Linked DNA regions of Homo sapiens: region 1 is linked to region 2. The links are contacts of gene promoters, found by promoter capture Hi-C in blood cells and fetal thymus (Javierre and others, 2016). All regions are on one chromosome and are shown on one strand. Each heading gives the region's core, a stretch centred on a gene start or on the middle of the fragment in contact. The rest is flanking DNA. Distances are from core to core; before and after follow the strand shown.

Region 1 (5,406 bases), core at 127-2,626, 490 kb before region 2:
TCCTGTCTGAGAAGATGCATAATGAGAGCATGAGGTGGGAATTTCATGAGGCGCTGACTCACTAAAATCTGACTGGGCAATTAGTAATGGTCTGAATGTGACTTACATAAGGTATTCCAAAGAGACTGAACTCCATCATGCCTGCAAAGAGAAGACACAGCTGTGTTGGAGGAAGGAGCACTTTGGGAGGAGAGTGAAGGCTTGGCCTGATTTTTCCTTACCCCATTAGAAAGCCCTGGACCATGATGAAAATATTAAAAGATGGGTGTAAATTAAAATCCACGCCCAGAGAGAACTCAGTTCTTGTTAATTTTACCACCCACCTAGATGATGATAGAGACATAACCAGTGCTGTTGAACAGCACAAACTCCAGTGCCCTCCCTGCCAGCACAGGCCCCTGGGAATGAGCCCACACACCAATGATAGATTTCCCCAGCTGGTCCCATGCAGCTGTGTTGTTTCCCAACCGGTGTCCTCCCCAGCGTCCAGAAGAGGGAAATGTGGAGCGGGTGATGATGACCCCTCGCTGTCCTGTCACCTCCTGCACAGCTCTGGTGGGAGGGGAATAAAGAGGTGAGTTGAAGAAACAAACTCCTTTACAGAGAATAACTGCAGCTTGGAGCATGAGAGGGTGAGGGTACTTCGGTCCGAGTCAGATAACTTCTTCCCTGAAAGAATCTGCTGTCTCAAAGCCATGCTAAAGATCCCAACAAACTTCACAGCAAGACTAGAGGTATATCTGCACGTAGAATGTGGGTTTCATTTTTGAAAAATCTGGTTAATTAACTATCACCCTGGAGTAAGAGAAAGGGGTGGGAGTGAGGCGTAATATAGCTATTTATGGAACAATTCCTCTATTCCAGTATTATACCGGTCACTTTCCTATGTGGTGTCTCATAACATCATGAAAAGGTTTCCTTGCACTCCTTTTACTGTTAGGAAGCTAAGATTCAGAGAAGTTAGAAAGGCATTCGCCTGAAAATAGTGAGCTGGACAAAATAAGATGATCTTTAAAATGCTTACCAAAGGTCATTTAAAGGGTAAAGAGGTCTGGGTGTGGTGGCTCACACCTGTAATCCCAGCATTTTGGGAGGTCAAGGTGGGTGGATCACTTGAGGTCAGGAATTCAAGACCAGCCTGGCCAACATGGTGAAACCCTGTCTCTACTAAAAAAAAAAAAAATTAGCCGGGTGTGGTGTGCATACCTCTAATCCCAGCTACCCAGGAGGCTGAGGTAGGAGAATCACTTGAACCTGAGGAGATGGAGGTTGCAGTGAGCTGAGATCGTGCCACTGCCCTTCAGCCTAGGTGATAGAGCAAGACTCTGTCTCAAAAAAAAAAAAAAAAAAAAAAAAAAAAGAGTAAAAAGGAGGCCAGGCACAGAAACTCACACATGTAATCCCAGCACCTTGGGAGGCCAAGGCAGAAGGACTGCTTGAGGCCAGAAGTTCAAGACCAGCCTAGGCAACACATTGAGACCCTGTCTCTACAAAAAAATAAAATTAGCTGGGCAGGGTGGTGCACGTGTGTCTGTAGTCACATGGCAGACAGGGGAAGAGGGAAAAAAAGAATAAGGAGGCAGATCTGGGATCCAAATAAAAGCTACAGCATTTTGGAAATATTCACTCTGCTTTTCTGTACCTCAAAAAGCGAGACATGTTTTGCACACAGAGGCAAATATACATAAAAGATGTTTATCTTTCAGTGGAAGATGGATCATCTGCACGCACCCTTAGAAAATAACAACAACTGTGTGAGGGAAAAATCAACTGAACAAAAGAGAAAGTCTACTAATAGATCCTAGTATGTATACAATCCAAGTATTTGCTTAAAAAAGCATCACAGATCAATAGACACAGATGAATTAGTCAATAAATGATGTCAGGAAAAGTAGCTGACTACTGTTGTGTAAACTAATCCATTTGGGTTATTTCCAATTTTTCACACCAAAACAAATCCAAAAATGAATGGAAATACACACACACACACACACACACACACACACACATACACACATGTTCTATTAAAACTGAAAGAATATATAAACCACCTGATTTCTACAAGAGAAAGGAATTTCAAATAAAAACAATGGACAAAACATAATGAAGTAAAAGGTATAGATTTAACCATACACAAATTGGAAGAATGCATATGTATGTATGTGTGATAAAGAAATGGGGGTGAGGATAGCTTAGATTTTTATAACAGTCTAGATGAGAGATAATGAAGGCCTGGAATAAGGCAGGAAGATAGAGTAGTGACTGATGCAAAGAACTGAGTCACCAACTGAAAGCAGGAAAAGAAAGAGAATCTAGGATGACCTAATGACTAGTTAAACTTGGTTCCTTTCACTAAAATAAAGAATGCTGGAGGGGCCGGGCGCAGTGGCTCACGCCTGTATTCCCAACTCTTTGGGAGGCCCAGGCAGATGGATCACCTGAAGTCAGCAGTTCGAGACTAGCCTGGCCAACATGGCAAAACCCTGTCTTTAATAAAAATGCAAAATTAGCTGGGCATGGTGGCATGCAACTCTAATTGCAGCTACTAGGGAGGCTGAGGCAGGAGAATTGCTTGAACCCAGGAGATGGAGGTTGCAGTGAGTCGAAATCGTGCCACTGCACTCCAGCCTGGGTGACAGAGCGAGACTCCATCTTAAAAAAAAAAAAAAGAAGAAGAAAGAAAAGACTGCAGGAGGACAGGTTTAAGGGAGAGATAAATAGTTCAACATTTTAAGTATTAGATTTGAAGTGCCTATGGGACATCATAAATGAGACAGCTATGGGCAATTCTAGGTTTGAGGCTCAAGAGAGGTTTGGGTTGGGAACAAAGATTTGGGGGCCATCTGAATCCAGAGTGTATTTAAAGCCAGTAGTATGTGTTTGTGCTTATCCAAGGGAAAAGCTACATGGTGTGAAGAAAAAAAAAGATGACTGAACCCAGGTGTGGAAGGAGCATAGGCTTGGAAAGACTGGGAAGGGAAACCTGCAAAGGAGTTTGTGGAACTGTGGCCAGAGAGGTAAATGCATAAATATCTGGAATCTAGGTTGGAAAGCACAGTCAAGATCCTGAGAAACTAGCAAAAGCACACAGAGCATATGCAGCAGGGCATATTATGAACCTCAATATTGTGAACCTCAAGGTCAGCAGAGGATGTAGCATGAAGGTCAGCAGGGAAGAGTCAGTGAACAAAACTGACCACTGATGCCACAAACGCTGAGCTCTCCCATCAATGCAGGCACTCAGGGCTGACAAACAAAGGCATTTTCATAAAAAGAAATAAAAATGGTTCAGTGCTTGGACAGAAAAGAGCAAAGAAGACATGGTCTTCTCCCCAGGTGTGTAGAGGAAATAACTTAAAATGTAGAACATACTGTCAGGTTAGTAGTTAAGAGAAGGAGGGAATTAGGAGGGATGGAGTAATCTGAGCAGGTTTCATGAAGGAAATAGATGTAAGTTGGTCTTTAGATTGTATGTGCTAAGAGATTAGCCTGATCAAGGTCAGAATGACCAGCATTTGTGATTGGTAAAGGGAGAAACATCAAGGTGTATGGGAATTAAAAAATATATATATCATGTATGGAAAGAGTTCCTTCAAACAGCTTGAATATGAGAGGGAGTTGAAAGATTAGATGATGGTTGGAGGAGGATATAGGCAAAAGCAAGAACAACTGGGGCATTTTCAAATATTGATGAAAAGGAATTAAAAAATATTGCTAATGTTTGTTGAGTGCTTACAATATGCCAAGTACTTGTGGATTCATTATATCATTTAATTTTTATATTAACAATAGATGCCATGATTTTTCCAATTTGAAAGATGAGAAAGTTTAGTTAGAAGATTTCACAGCCTAAATCCTAAAGCAATATACCAGCAGTGAGGAAGAAGATAAAAAATAATTCATGAAGAAACGAGCACCCATGGAAAAGTATAATTTGTGGAGCAAGCTTCTCTGAAGAGAAAGATGGCGATGGGATGCAGATGTGTGAAAAGCAAATTTCCCTGAAGAGAGAGGAGGGGATGGTGCATGGGAAAGTTGAGCTTTTGGTAGAAACTTTATCAAGTTTTCACATCTTCTTATTGCTGCTTTCTTTGCCCTGAAAGCCCCTTCTTTGCCAAAAGAAAATTTCTACTCTTCTTTTAACCAACATTCAAACATCACTTCTTCTATGAAGACTTTCTGGATTATCCCAGTAGAGTTAATTGATTTTCCCTCTCATGTTTGACTCCTATAATTAGACAATGAGGTCCTTGAAAGCAGGGACTGTGACTTATTCATCCTTGTACTCTTCCAAGGTAAGGTTATCTCTGAGGTTGCAAAACACCTATTTGTTTTGTGTGTATTTCATATAATGACATGGGTGTTTTCCTGAAGAACTAGTTTTTCCTTGGTTGGAAAAGCCTCAAGCTAGGTGTGGAAAGCAAGACTGTGAAAGAGCAACTGAAAGATGAAGATGTAAAGAAAGTGGGAAAGGGAAGAAGAATTTCTGTTTGGAAGACCATGTTGCCCCTGATTGTGGAACACCAGGGGCAACATGATACATCACCTGTTGATAGCCCAAAATCAAATAGTATGAGGTTCTTGTAAACTCTGGGGACAGAAGGCAGAGAGCTCAGATACTTGAGCAGAAAGGGGCAGTTGAACAGAAAAGATCACACTCTGTCCTGGGAAGAACTAAAGAACAAGTCTGAAATTTCCCAACGACATTGGAAAGTGGCAAAATCTCAGAAGGATAAAAGAAAAGACAAAGGGACAGATAAATATTTATAGAAATAATGGCCAAAAACATATACATTAAAAACTAAAAATAATTGTTGAAAAAATTAAAGATCTAAATAAGTGGAAAGACACCTCATGCTAATGAATCAAAAGAGACTTAATATTGTTAACATGGTAATACTCACCAAACTGATTTATAGACTCAATGTAAAAACTATCAAAATCCCTGTTGCTATTTTGTCAAAACTGACAAAGTGATTACAAAATTCATATCAAATGCAAGGGACCCATAGTAGCTAAAACAATCTTGAAAAAAAAATTGGAAGAGTCACACTTCATCAATTAAGACAGTGTGGTACTGGCATAAGGATATATATATATATAGAGAGAGAGAGATCAATGAAATAGAGTTGAGAAGGCAAAAATAAGCCTTCTCATTTACTGTCAATTGATTTTTGACAAGGTGTCAAGATAATAAAATGAAGGAAAGAATAACATTGAACCACTACCTCACACCATACACAAAAATAAACTTAAAATGGATGACAGATCTTGGTGTAATACCTAAAACTATAAAGCTCTTAGAAGAAGACATAGGAATAAATCTTCATGACCTTGAATTAGGTAATAGTTCCTTGAATATGACACCAAAAGCACAAGTGACAAATGAATAAGTAAGTAAATGAA
Region 2 (5,052 bases), core at 2,446-4,945:
CAGTGCTGGAGGTAGGGCCTGGTGGGTGGCATTTGGATTACAGAGGTAGATTCCTTGGTGCCATCCTCATGGTAATGAACCAGTTCTCACTTTGTTAGTTCACACCAGATCTGGTTGTTTAAAATGAGCCTGACACTTCCTTCCTGTCTTGCTTCCACTGTCTCACTTTTTCTCTCACCATGTAACAAGCTGCCTTGTTTCTGTCCACCTTCTGCCATGACTGTCAACTTCCTGAGGCCCTCACCAGAAGCAGATACAGGCAATATGCTTACTGTACAGCCTGCAGAACTGTAAGCCAAATAAACCTCTTTTCTTTATAATTTACCCAGTCTCAGGTATTCCTTTGTAGCAAGGCAAACAGACTAACAAATCCCTTCTGCAGTATTTCTACCAAGTGGTCGGTCATCAATGAGTGTTCTATGCTTTTAGCCACAGGGAGCTTACACCTCCTAAGCATGCTCTTCTATCTCTAGATGATTCTGTCAGGAAGTCCTTACAGTGAACTGAATTTCACATGATTTTTGGTTCCATCCCTTGGACAAGACTGACTAAGCCAATCCTCCTTTCCCATGCAGCTTTGTCTTCTGCATAACAATGATCAGCCATCAAGCCTCTTTCCTCTAACGCAAACTGTGTTTTCATAAAGTATGTACTTTCCCAGTTGCATTTCAGTTTTGCTCCCAAGCCCTGTTCTCTGCCTCTCCCTTAAATGCATTATCCAAGATTTCTAACTGGGCCACTTCTCTCCTTACTCTGGCACTCAGGCTATGTGACCTTATCTCCACCCATGGCCTCAACTACTTCCTAAATGCTGTAGATATCCAAATACGGATTTCCAATTTTCATTGTTTTCTTGTGCCCCATACCCAGTTATCCAACTTTTTATACCACATCTCTGCTTTTCTCCAAACCCATATATCCCTTAGTGTCATCTATCTTGATTCTGTCTACTGAACCAAGCAAGAAACCTCAGTCATCAGATTGTTTTCGTTTTCCCTCGACCTCTCCATCAAGTCATCTCTGAATTTTTCACTGTCCTAGTCCAGGCTCTTCTTTGTTCAACAGGGCTATTCTGAATACTGCTCTACCTCCAGGCTCTCTCATGCTCCATCCCACAATACATACAAAGGTCATGATTTTTCCAAAAAAATCCCTCTACTCAAAACCATGGTAATGGCTCTCTCAACACTCTCAGGATTAAAATCTTGATCTAGCTTCTGCCCACCTACACTGGCCTCATCTCTTGCACTCTCTCACACACAGGCCCGTCACACTGAATAACATGCTGTTTTCCAAGTGTAGCAGCTCCTTCCCCTCCATAACTTGGTGGATGCTTTTCCCTTTGCCTAGAATTCCTATTCCCCTCTTTGCCTGGCTAACTCCAAATATCCTTTAAGACATCTCTCAAACATTACTTTCTTTGGAAAGTCTTCCCTGATAGAGATGTAATTCCTAATTCCTTCTCATCATGCTCAACCATTCCTCTAGTACACGTTTTGAACTTTATTGTTTCATTTGTTTAATCTTTATTCATTTTGTGGGCTCTTTTTGAAGGCAGTGAATGGGTTTTGCCAGCAGAGGGTCTGCTAACACATCAAGGTGTTCAGTTAAGCTGTGAATGATCAAATGAATGTCATGTTTTCTTCTCTGTGTACTCTTACTCAAAGCCACATTCTCTCAGCCCATTCTCCCCCATATATCAAAACTGGACCAACTTTCATTGCCCTTCCTATACCTTTCTTTCTTTCCTGATCACCACACTGAGAATCTGTCCAGCGGGTTCTGACCACACTTATCACATAGTGCCTTTTGGCATAACTACTCTCTCTCTGCTAGACTGTAAGCTCTTTGAGGGCAGAGACTGTATTATATGCTCCTTACCTATAGGGAATTCTCAAAGAATAAATGGGTGATTAATTGGCTGGTGCTGTGACCACTGAAAAACCCAGAGATAGACATCGGAGCATATTAGTTTTTCTACAATTCAAACAAGCAGCTTAGAATTTCCTGGTATACATGGTACCCACACCCAGCAGGTACTAAAGAGACCTGCTGATAGCAACTGTGTCGCAGTCAGGATCACAGATGTTATTATGATGATCTTAAGTGCCTCAGGCTGAACCAGCAGGAAGCCGAGCTAATACCAATCCTAGGACTCACACACCATGGCACCAGAGTTGATTAGAGGCAACCCTGCCCCAACTATGGCTTTAATAACATGAACGATGCAACAGGACACCAATCACAACAAGAATAAAGGAATATGCTACTAGGGACTCTTGCTTATTTGCCATCCTCAGCTTATGAAGAAGTATCAACAAGTTTCCTCTTTGCTGACATATACTAGAAGAACCTGGAGGTTCTTCTATTAGACCAAGGAGGGGAGAGGAGTTGTTTCTGGGAGGAGCAGCAGCAAAGAGATATGACTATGTTCAAACAGTGAGTGTGGACGTTCTTATATTAGAAAGTATTAGTAAATAATCACACAAAAATAGAGCCAGTTGGCGTAATGGAAAGAACAATAGACTAGGCCAAAAAGATCAGGTTTCTAGTCCTGTCTGTAACATTGGCTGAGCTGTGAGACAGTTTCTGTCTTGGGCCCTTCATTTTCTCATATGTAAACTGCACAGCTGGAGCTCTAAATCTCAATATTCCTTCCAGTTCCAATATTCTTTAACTAGGGACTTTTTTCTACCCAAGATTTGTTTGTGGCCAATAGCCAACAGTTACTGGCACCAGTGGTTTTGAGAAGACAACTGGCAAACCATTTAATTCTGTCCATTTTCTGGTAATTTTAATTTCTTCATTTTCATCAATAAATGTGTAATTGAGGATATACACAGCCTGGAGGTGACTGTCATACACACATGAATCCACTCTATCAGCTAAACTACAGGAAAGCAGAGCTTGGCGACCTGCGTCCCTTTTTCCCCCACCCCTTACTTACTTTGGGAGTAGAGGGGCTGTCACTGGGCAGCAGCTTGCTCCTGCTGTCTGGTTGGGCTGGTGTCTCAGGACATTTGAGAGGGTGTGACACTGGAGTCCTCAAAATCTGATCTGGACTTTCTTTGTCTTTTTCCGAAGATGTGTCGAGCTCATGCACGTTGCTAAGGGGAGTCCAAGGTGGTGTACCCTTTGCCTCTGAATCCTGCACTTCACCCTTCTCTGGGGTTTGGCTCGAAGCCTCCCTGCTTTCTTCTACTTTCTTCTGCCCTTCAATCTCAGTCTCCTCACAATAGGAAAAGTTTAATTTCTGCCTTAGTTCTTTGTCAATATCTTTGTCATCCATCTCAGCCAAAGAGCTTTACAACACAGACAAAAAGCTCTATCAGAAGGGAACGCTGTGAACCTACAGAAGCAGGGAGGAGAAAATAACTTAACCTGCAGGTTTCGCGACGGTAGCCTGAATTTCCCTCTACCAACTAACAGCTACAAAACACGGTGTTAATTTTCTGCCTTAAGTACCACCAATCTATAAGACCTCAGCTTATCCTGATTTCCATTCTGATTAAAGAAAGCTCCAGTGACTCTCGGAGCAATTAAATGCAGTTCATGTACAGAACTCTTCTGGATATGACACATAGTCTCCCATGTGTTACCAAATACTAGTGAGAAAATTGAATTCCTTTAATTTAGCATGGCTTTAAAAATACCCATTAGCCAATTTGGGAATAAGCTAATATTGAAAAGAAATTATTTTCACTCCTTACACCTGCCATTTATAAATATCACCCTCTCCTCCCTTCTCCTCCCCACCCACCCAATAGCTAACAGCAGGTAATTACAATTTAGCATCACCTGGCTATCATAATGATCCTTAAACAGCCTCTAACATATCTTGACTGGAGTTTGTATCCCTGACAGAGACACAGCTTAGCTCTGTGCCAAACACACCTGCCCTAATTCAGGCATCTCCCTCCTGCAGCTGTTAGCTGTTAGCAGTTAAAGCTTCTAGGGAATTGAACAAAAATTTAAACTGACAAAAGAAAGGCTAGAAAGATCAACAAACCATAGAAACAGATATTGATCACTGGAAAACAGCAATGGCTTCTGCCAAAAATGCCTTATATTGTAAAATGCTTTTTAATATCTTTAGTACACATTATTTAATTTCTTTCTCAGAGAAGCCCCTATGAGAAGGATGGAAAACTCTTTGAAGAAAAAAACAACTATTATACAATCAAGCTGTCCCTCTTCTCTTCCAGTTATATAGCCAAAGGAAATAAAATCACTATCTCAAAAAAATACCAACACACCCATATTCATTGCAGCATTATCCTCAACAGCCAAGATATGGAAACCACCTAAATAGCCATGGACAGATGAATAAAGAAAATGTGGTGAATACACACACACACACACACACACACACACACACACACACAATAGAATATTACTCAGTCATAAAAAAGGAAAGGCTGCCATTTGTGATAACATGGATGAACCAGGGGGATATTAAGTGAAATAAGCCAGGCACAGAAAGACAGATACTACATGATCTTACTTATATGTGGAATCAAAAACAGTTGATCTCCTAGAGGGAGGGAGTAGAATGGTGGTTACCAGGATCTGGAAAGGCAGGGGAAATGGGGAGATGCTGATCAAAGGGTACACACTTTCAGGTATAAGATGAACAATTCTGGGGACCTGATGTACAGCATGGGTGCATATGGGTGTGGTAAATTTTTGGTAATCATTACACAATGTATAGGTATATCAAAGGAAAAAGGCCTCACTGATATCACATTATAGAAGAAAACTATGTGAGAGGCAGTCCATGAAAAAGGAAAATGATACACTCATGCCCCTCAAGGAGGCTTCAGAGGGACTGCAAATAGGGAATTATTTACATGATAAACATGGGCCCAAAGAGAGACAGGAACCAAGGCCAGCTTGATGAGTTTGAAACAAATGTTATTTCCCTTCTCTTTATAGTCTTTGCTACCTGTCACCCCTCTTCCATTTCCCTCTTTTCACAGATCTCTCCACCACTTTCTCCTAATTCCTTCCCCATTCCCAGCCAGAACTCCTGAGGAGGGTAATCCAAATGAA

What was found. The method cuts DNA at HindIII sites, captures the fragments that hold promoters and counts their contacts. A CHiCAGO score of 5 or more calls a contact.
Region 1: a fragment that was not itself captured here is called in contact with the fragment with the promoter of WEE2 in region 2 in 2 of 17 cell types (M1 macrophages and M0 macrophages); the score reaches 7.6 in M1 macrophages.

What each region holds. Positions count from the first base shown.
Region 1 is chr7:142,191,300-142,196,705 of GRCh38, reverse strand. It overlaps MGAM2 (maltase-glucoamylase 2 (putative)), which reads right to left. Exons shown (of 48, transcript NM_001293626.2): 38 at 419-552; 39 at 107-141; 40 at 1-6. Among named protein-coding and RNA genes, the nearest start is that of PRSS58, 64 kb to the left of the region's middle. RefSeq lists an enhancer at 1-615. The HindIII fragment of the contact is 5,144 bases long and covers 1-3,948 here.
Region 2 is chr7:141,706,996-141,712,047 of GRCh38, reverse strand. It overlaps WEE2 (WEE2 oocyte meiosis inhibiting kinase), which reads right to left and starts at 3,695. Exons shown (of 12, transcript NM_001105558.1): 1 at 2,948-3,695. The coding sequence starts at 3,289. All of the region lies in intron 3 of WEE2-AS1 (WEE2 antisense RNA 1), which reads left to right. The HindIII fragment of the contact is 6,148 bases long and covers 1-3,950 here.